Regions from separate parts of the Homo sapiens genome. Here region 2 is linked to region 1. The links are contacts of gene promoters, found by promoter capture Hi-C in human tissues and cell types (Jung and others, 2019). All regions are on one chromosome and are shown on one strand. The core of a region is centred on a gene start or on the middle of the fragment in contact, and the rest is flanking DNA. Distances in the headings are between cores, read along the strand shown.

Evidence for each region. The method cuts DNA at HindIII sites, captures the fragments that hold promoters and counts their contacts. A contact is called where the count stands out against the background at its distance.
Region 2: a contact is called between a fragment that was not itself captured here and the fragment with the promoter of KIF2B in region 1, in 1 of the 25 tissues and cell types used here (heart right ventricle).

Annotation. Positions count from the first base shown.
Region 1 is chr17:53,821,595-53,826,288 of GRCh38, reverse strand. KIF2B (kinesin family member 2B) reads right to left here and starts at 3,362. Exons shown (of 1, transcript NM_032559.5): 1 at 1,096-3,362. The coding sequence starts at 3,255. The coding sequence ends at 1,234. It overlaps LOC124904030 (a long non-coding RNA gene), which reads left to right and starts at 3,363. Exons shown (of 2, transcript XR_007065851.1): 1 at 3,363-3,565. The HindIII fragment of the contact is 8,156 bases long and covers 1-4,694 here.
Region 2 is chr17:54,889,094-54,893,951 of GRCh38, reverse strand. No RefSeq gene overlaps it. Among named protein-coding and RNA genes, the nearest start is that of TOM1L1, 9.3 kb to the left of the region's middle. The HindIII fragment of the contact is 6,052 bases long and covers 1-4,858 here.

The sequences.
Region 1 (4,694 bases), core at 2,113-4,612:
ACTGTTTGTCTTATACCCTGCTCCAACTTGATACAGGAAGGCTTTTTATGTGAAGCATATAAATACAATATATGGTAAAGAGTGTGTGAGGAAAAAAAAATTAAAGACACTATAGTCAACAAAGCCCTACTTAGGCAAAACGTGCACACACACATACACACACCCCTACACACATGCACTTTAATCACTTCTAGGGAGTACAATACTTTGCCATTTCAACTCAAATGTTTCTTTTAAAAAGTCCCTCTCAATTCTAGGCTCTCATACATGGTTTCAAGGAAAATCCAGCCTCCCAATATGATTAGATCTTAAAAACCATTTGAATCTAAACAGCAATGCAAGAGAAAGATTCATGAGCAGTATCATTAGATTTACTCCATTGTGTACCCCTGGTGTCTTTCCAATCTATTTCCTTTAACTCACAGTGTTTTGCTTTCCCAGCTGGAAATTTAGTGTATCTGCTTTCATCACAGCTGGTTTCTTCTACAGCAGGGTTTCTCTACCTCGATACCATTGATGTTTGCAACAGGGTAGTCACTTGCTGTGAGAAGCTGTCCTGTACACTTCAGGGTCCCCAACCCCTGGGCTGCAGACCGGTAGGTCTGTGGTCTTTTGGGAATCACACTACACAACAGAAGGCAAGCTGGCAGTGAGCGGGCATTACCGCCTGAGCTCCCCCTCTTGTCAGATCAGCAGGAGCATTAGATTCTTACAGGAGCATGAACCCTATTGTGAACTGTGCATGTGAGGGATATAGGTTGTTGCATGCTCCTTAGGAGACTAATGCCTGATGATCTGAAGTGGAACAGTTTCATCCCCAACCCCACCCACGGAACAACTCCCTTCCACAAAACCGGTCTGTGGTGTCAAAAAGGTTGGGGACTGCTGCTGTACACTTTAGAATGCTTAGCAGCATTTCTGGTCCTCAAACTACTGTATGCCAGTATCCTCATCACCCCCAGTTGTGACAATCAAAAATGTTTCCAGACATCGCCAAATGTCCTGGTAGGGGGTGGGGAGGAACCATTCCCTGTTGAAAACTATAGTTCAGCAGGATGAAAACAAACTACAGAAATACAGAGGCAGAAGAAAGAGCATGTTTCCCATCAGTGTATTTTAAGATGTTTTAAGCTTCTCAGGAGGATCTTTAGATAATTTGGACAGTTTTCCTGTATAAGAGTGGTGGAAACTGCAGCAATGCAGCATTTCGGACCTGATCTCTCGCCATTGGCTTCACTCTACCTTGCTCTTCACGTGGAGGTCAGCTAGTAATAATTTCAGTTTCTTTTGGATCTCGGTCAGAGCATCAATTTTCTGCTCCAAAATGGACAAAGACCGGGCAATGCAAAAATCAATATCATGGTGTACTCCACCAGCTCTCTCCTGGATGTTTTCCAGCCATTGGCTAGATCCCTTCCCTGAAATTGTGGTATCCTTCCCTAACAGAGTGGGTAATGTTTCAACCTCTTCAATCTCTTTCTGCTCCTCACTCTGTACATAAGGTATTTTAATAAATTCATCCCTCTGAAGGGACATTTCTGAATTTCCGATGTGACTTTTTAACATCCTTGGTGCCTCATGTCCAATCGGATAGTGGCCACGATGGTAGGGCCTTACATCTACATTTAATTTTTTTACTCTGTTTGCATATCTTAAAGTGTTGAGAGTGTTTTCACAAGAGGTCATCCCCGGAGAGATGGTAGCAATCATGCAAGTGGAGGAGTTCTGGCCTATAAAGGAGTCCCGGAGCACCAGTGTGAGTTTGCTGGCTCTGAATGGGGTGTGAGGCTTGTTCTGACCCAAAGCCAGAATACATTCTTTGAGGGCTAGAAGACTCTTGTTAATCTCTGCCCCTTCCAGCTGCCTTTTCCGGCTGGCCTTGGTTGTATCTGCTCCTCTTTCATTCCCAGCTAAATCAACGAGGGAAAACTTGCCATGCATTATCCGTCCTGACTTCAGGATGATCTGGAACACTGCATGGCTCCTGGATGAGTGAGCGTTGACAGGTGTTTGCCTGGAAGTCCGACAGCTATTCCCTATTTCCACCAGGTTCAGCACTTCCTCCACACAACACACCTCTTTCTCCTGCAGCCCGACCACTTGGATTTGCTGATTGCCATCCTCAAGGACTTGCAGCTTCTTCTTCCAGTTCAACAAATCATACACCTTGCCCCCATAAATCTCAAAAAATGTCCCATAGACTTTGAGGTCCAGCTTCTCATATGTGGAGTTTCTGAGCAGGAGAAAGACATCCTGTGCCACCAGAGCATAAATGCCCTTAGAACAATCTTGGGCCGTTCCTGAAAAGTCTCCACCCATGGTGTACGTCTTCCCACTTCCCGTCTGCCCATAGGCAAAGCAGGTGGCCATGCCCTTGCGGAAGATGGACTCCACCAGTGGCTGGGCGGTGAACTGGTACACCAACTCGTTGGAGGCTTTGTCATCGAAGGCATGGTCGAAGCAGAAGGTCTGGTTCTGCAGGTAGCGAGTGAGGTCCACCTTTTGCTTGGACTCATGCACCATAACCACATTGTCCGAGGGGACGGTGATGATATCCAGGTCCTTTAAGGTTGTCTCTCGCTGGTTGAGAGGCCGCTTCCTCACGCAGACGCAGATGCGATGTTCTTGCGGGGGCTCCAGGACTGAGATCTTGCTGCTGTCCAGGTGCCTGCGATACTCTTCGATCATGTGCATGATTTCGTAGTTGGGGTTTCTGGTATTGACATCGAGGGCGCGTCTAGCTCGGATCTCCTGCTGCAGCCGCCTGCGCTTTTCCCGCTGCTCCTGCAGTTTCTGGATTTCCCAGAGGCAGGGAGACTTTTTCTGCTTCATCAGACAAGGTTTGCTGGGGACCCTCACATCCAGGCTGTCCCCTGAGGCTGTTTGGTTTTTCTGGGGGATCATCGCAACCCATTTCGTGGCGGTACGCTGGTCCCTGATGGCCGAAGAGGGCGCCAGAGCCAAGGGGGATAAGGGCGGGGGCGGCATGGGGTGTTCAGCAGAGTCCAGAGCTGGATTCAGCAGGAGTATGGTCTCCAGGTCAATCTTCTTGCCTTTTTTGACTGCTTTCTCCACCCACTCTACCGTGACCCAATAGTTTTCTCTGTTGATCTCCGTGACCACAGCGAGGTGGATCCGCTTGTCACTGCGCTGGATCGCCACGTAGATGCCCTCTTGGATGTCTCCGAAATGTGGCTTCAAGGGTTTCAGGGGCGAGAGACATGGGGATTCAGGGAGGCAGAACTGGCTGGCCATGGTGAGTGATGGAGGTATCAGGGAGCGCTCCAGGGCCCTTGGGGTTGGAGCAGCAGGACCCAAGCCAGCCTGAAGCGCCCGGAGCACTGAGCAGGGTTGCAGTCTGTGCCTGCCTTTGTGAGCCTAGCGCGCCGGGGCCCGGACTGGGGCCACTACGTCACAAAGGGATGAGATGAGGCGGCAGAACCTAGGGCTTAGGAGTGAATGGTACGGGAGCACAAAGGGATGGAGAGATTGTTCTCTGCCAGTGAGGGTGAAGGGGTTGGAGGAGGATGTGGCGTGCTCTCCGGATCATGGCGAGAAAGAACAGGTAACAGAGAAGCAACGGGAACCATGGCGTTGAAATTTAATTTATATGTCCCGTGTACATTTATGCCTAAGCATAAAAGGAGGCCTTGGCTGGCAGTCTCAAAGCTCAGTGCTTTAATTTGAGAATTGCTATGAAGTTTCCTTAAACTTTAACTCTCCAGTGATCAGTGGGAATAGATGAAGGTAGAGCTATTTGCAAATCTCAGGACTCGATATTCAACAGGATCCCAGAAAGGCTCCTCAAACCCGCCATCTTTGTTTTTTCACCTCCTTCAAAACGTGTAACTTGTTTAAGAGTCACAACTTAAAGTTATTACAGTTTAATCGGCTTTCTCATTACAAAATCAAAATGAGTAGAATGTAGCAGGTCGTTGTGGTAATTTGCTAATATGAAACTACCTTTCGTACAGCACCTGGGTTTGCAAACACAACATGTGTATCACATTCCAAGTGGCTCTGACAGCTATAAAGTGAGTTTTGTTGTGCTGTGGTCACCACCATTTTTGAGATTAGTTCAGTAATTACCTTTCCAAACTCCTTCAGTAATTACACTTCTGGCCTCATTATCCATAATTGGGAGAGAAAGAAAAGGCATTGTGTGGAAAGAGATAATTAATCTTATACTCCCCCCACCCCTGCAGTACTTGTGTGTGTCCTTTAGAAGTTGTTAAGCAAGGCTGGAAGGCAGCTAAGACCATCGGATGCAAAAATATATTTTGCCAAGATTGCAATATTTTCATGCATAAGAATTAGCTTATAAAATAAATGACATTGACTTTTAGACAGGCCAAGCTCAGAGTAAGGGTGATGCCTTACGTTCAGCTCACTAGCAACACCCGTGCATGTTGTCTTTTGGACTGTTGAATTTTATCATAATTATAGCTCCAAAGTAACATGAAGTAGCAAGTTACAACCTTCCCTAGGAATAAGGGCCTCTATAGAAATAAATTCTACTATAAACTAACTTTTCTGTTCAGTCAGTCTAGTAAAGCTTAGATTTTGAAAAGAAGGTGGAAGGAGGATACTGGATAAATTAGATAAGTAAGCAGTGCTCATTTCAAGAGGAGGTTGTATGCAGGTGGAGGGAGAGGAGAAAGGGCTTTAGGCAATTGTCTTCTAAAAAATATCAT
Region 2 (4,858 bases), core at 1,219-3,718, 1.1 Mb before region 1:
GCCTGGCATGTCCTTGGTGTTCAATAACTGTTGGAGCCCAAAGCTTAAAGTAGGCTTCTGTTTCCTGTTTTCCATCATATCATCTTGGTTATGTCCTTTATAACACTGTTTATAATCTGAAATTGTTTTGTGCAATTATTTGTTTACTTGCCTTGCAAGACTTAATATTGCTCCCTTGCTCCACAAAATATACCCTTGTGATTCTATATTGCGCTGCAGCCACAGCCCTCTAGGCCAACTGTTTCCCTCAGGCCCTAAAGCAGATCTCCCCAAAAAGAGCAGATTTGGTCATCCATTCGTCCTATAACCTGTTTTAGTTTTAGTCCAGCTATAATACCATTTTTAAAAGACATCATCTTGCTGATATTAAGAACAGTCCTCCCACCTCACCTTCTTTTCTCTTCTAATACCATTTGTCACTGTTGACCTCTGCCTGCTCCTTGAATGCATTTCTTCTCCTACCTACTATGGTGTGATGTGCAGCTCCCCTGTGCTTCTCCTGATTCTACCTACAGTGCTGATTTAAAGCCTCCTTGCCCTCCCCACCTCTCTTTATCCTCTTATTCTGGGTTATTGTCTTCATAGCATTTACTGCTATTTGAAATGCTCTCATTTCTTCATTTGTTTGCATGTTTATAGATGTCTTCTTATCTGGCTTGGGGAGGGCACAGAAAGTTCTGTTTTGCTCATCACTGCATTATTCAGTGACTGCAACACCGCCTTGTATGTTCCATAGTTCATTATATCTAAAACTCTTTCTGTGATAAGATGCACTATTTTTTGGCACAACAAAAAGGAAAAAAAAGCTTCCAGTTAAACTATGAGATACTACTTTTTTATTAGTTATAATTTTTATTTTGTGTTTATTTAAATAACATTTTGAGAATCATTGGACATGACGTTTTGCATATATGACTCTTTTACAAATGTGAAAAGGAAAATGTAAGCAAAATAAATTAACAAAGATGGCCGGGCCTGGTGGTTCACGTCTGTAATCCCATACTTTGGGGGGCCTAGGCAGGTGGATCACCTTAGGTCGCAAGTTCGAGATCAGCCTGGCCAACATGGTGAAACCATGTCTCTACCAAAAATATAAAAATTAGCCGGGCATGGTGGTGGGCGACTGTAATCCCATCTACTTGGGAGGCTGAGGCAGGAGAATCACTTGAACCTGGGAGAGAGGTTGCAATGAGCTGAGATTGTGCCAAGATACTCCAGCCTGGGCGACAAGAGCAAAACTCCATCTCATAATTAATTAATTAATTAACAAAGATACTATTTCTTCTTCCCATACAGAATCCAGCTCTCCAAACTCACTCCTTGACTCAGAGACATCAATGTGTTTTTCCACACCCTGTCATCTTTTATGCCACTATCAGCACTGGTGACACTGCATTTTTTTAGAGAGTGCTGCTATTGTCTCCCAATACTTTATTATAAGCTGTTGACACTCAGTTTAAATTTTGATAGTGGTGCTTTTTTGATCTTACTAGAAAGTATCAATGAAAGCTTTTCCAGACAACAAACAGGACTTGTTTTTCTTCCCCAAATTGTCCTTAAATAGATTTGGGACTGAAATATCAAGGGTGTCAGTGTCCCATAAGCCATCAGAAATGACAAGCAGATCGCACATACCCACGCAATGACAACTATGTATGCATTTCTGCTGTTGCCTGGCTGACAGAGATTATAACATACCACAGGTTGTGAGGTGCATTAGAGATGTTTTTATTTTTATTTTTATTTTGGAGACAGAGTTTTCCTTTGTCGCCCAGGCTGGAGTGCAGTGGCGCCATCTTGGCTCATTGCCACCTCCGCCTTCCAGGTTCAAGCAATTCTCCTGCCTCAGCCTCCCAAATAACGGGTATTACAGGTGCCCACCACAACGCCTGGCTAATTTTTTTTTTTTTTGCACTTTTAATAGAGACGGGGTTTCACTGTGTTGGCCAGGCTGGTCTCTAACTCCTGACCTCAGGTGATCTGCCCAACTCGGCCTCCCAAAGTGCTGGGATTACAGGCGTGAGCCACCACACCTGGCTGCATTAAAGATGTTAAAAATATGGAGGAAAAAATTACATCTTACAGTAGTTGAGATTCTCTAGTATATTCTTTGCAGATATTTACTAAATGAATTAATATATAAACAGAACCAGTGTTACTGCTGTGTAAGCCAACTAAAGTCTAAAATAAATTACCTAAGACAGAAATCCCATGCATTAAGCAATTCTTTGTTTCATTTTTTATTATTGGCTTATCAAGTTTGGGCAATTATTTCATCTACTTAAATTCTAGAATCAGTAATGAATTCTTGTTGATTATAATTCAATCTAGAGCAAGTTTTAAAATTTGGAATATACTTTTTCACTTCTATTTATCATTCATTGTTTCTTAGAAGCTGACTGCAGCATACTTTAAATTATCTGCTTTAAAAAGATAAGTATTACACAGGTTTTTCAATGGGGTGCCCTGGATTTCTTGTGTTTGAAAAATAGAAAACATTTTATACAGGTAGTTTTTTTAACCATGAGAGGGCAGCCTTGTTTAACTTATCGAATTCTCCCAAAGGCCTAGCTGGGCAGCCACATTCTACAGAATGATTCATTGGAGGGGGAGGAGGGCTCCAGGAACCCCAGCCAGCTGTTTTCAGGGTGTTTTATTTGCTGAAGGCTAGTTGCTCTGCTGGGAAGCACATTGATGCTGCTCACTGTTTTTACTCCCTGAGGGTCTTACATTGGCAGTGAAACCTGGTATTACTTATTTAGCAGGCAGATGGGGGGTCCAGGGAAATGAGTTGCTTGGGAAGGTTGACATGTATCAGAAATTAGGTGGCTGCAGGAGGGGATGCTTTCACAAAGGCCATGTCTGGGATTTGAATCTCTGATAACACATACATACCTATAGTTATGCAAACTTTGTGTGTGTGTGTGTGTGTGTTTGTGTGTGAGGTTTATTTATTTATTTATTTGAGACGGAGTCTTGTTCTGTCACCCAGGCTGAAGTGCAGTGGCATAGTCTTGGCTCACTACAACCTCTGCCTCTGGGTTCTAGAGATTCTCCTGCCTCAGCCTCCCAAGTAGCTGGGATTACAGGCATACACCACCACACCCAGCTAATTTTTTTTTTTTTGTACTTTTAGTAGAGACAGGGTTTCACCATGTTTGCCAGGCTGCTCTCAAACTCCTGACCTCCAGTGATCCGCCCACCTGGGCCTCCCAAAGTGTTGGGATTACAGGCATGAGCCACCACACCTGGCCCCAACTTTGAACTATTGTTGGAGACCGTTTGGAGAGGCAAAACCATTAAGAAAGGGGAGAGGTTGAAGGTGGGTCTAACGAGGATGGATGTCACGATCAATCAGCTTAAATCATCAAGGAGATGAAAGGGGATAGTGACTTATATTTTACATGCTTATTAGCTCATTTATTCCTTCCTTCCTTTATCACACATTATTGAATTTTATACAGAGGTACAACATGGACTTCTAAGCCAGTGAGGGAAACTTCCTAGTAAGCAGATCATTGCAGTTCAGTCTAAGTGTTAAACAAAAATATGGACACAGTATCATGGGAGTACAAACCAGGAACTAACTTTGCATGGAGGATTGAGTCCTGGATTAAAGATCTGGGCAGCATAGGGTTAGACCCAGGCCTGTTAGTGTAGGCCTGAGAACAAATAATGTGATGACCAAATAGTGTAATGACCAATGCAACGTAGGGGAAGAGAGCTCTGGTCAGTCTGAAACTCACGTATTCTGTGCCTCACTCTTTTATAGAGACAACTTTTACTTTTCAGTGCTAGCCCATCTCTGTAGTGGTGAGAGCAGTTACAAAGGTGTCCTAGTGTCTTTTACAGTTATAAGTCCTTCTATGTTAGCTTTACCAACTGAGCAATGAGAACATATGACAGCATGCACTCATTCATTCCACAAACACATAATGAAGTCCCCAAATGCGCCAGTCACGATGCTAGGAATTAGTGTATATGAACAAGCTAAAATCCAATCTCTGCATCCCAAGTGCTCAGTGCTCACAATCAAGTAAGGAAGAAATTATAAACCAGTGGACAAAGTTAATTCTTCATGCAGATGGGCAGAAAATTTACTTTTCCTCAAGTCCTTGAGCCTAGTAGTCACACAATGTTTCCTCATTAAGCTTCTTAATTATAAAAAGATCAGGATGAGCTTCAAAAGTAGTAGGGATGAAAGTGGTAGAAATCATAGTATTTTCTATTAGTCTTAGCCCCAAGTTATAAAGTGAATGTCCTACCAACCATGTTCCTTACAAAAACATAGGAACAACAATAGCATTGGTTGCATTCCAGGGCTAAATAGGAATGCAAAACAGGTCATGTACAGTTTTGATATTGCTAAATCAGGGGTTTGCATCGTGATTAGAGTTGCATTCTGATTCATGTTAAAAAAAAAGTTATTAAAGATAGTATAGAATCAGTTTCACTTTTAAATGAATTAATTTATATCTTCATTTAAAATCATATATAAGTATATACTTGTATATACTTTTCATGTAAAATCATACATATATAAGTATATACTTGTATGTGTACATGTTTATTTAGTGTATGGCGTGTATATGGACCAAAGAAGACCAACCTGCAGCTTCCCTGAGATCTTTGGCCTCAGAATATCTGCTATACTCCTGAGCCCTTCCTAAGAAAACCCATTTACAGTTCCTTTCCGGTGCACTTTCTTACACTGAACGCTTATCCGTATTCTCAATCAGGAATCAGCAAATATTGTCTGTAAGAGGCCAGGTAGTAAATATTTTAAGCTCTGCTGGCATCTAGTCAACTCTGTCTGCCATTGTAGCACAAAAGCAGTCATGGACGATATATAAACTAA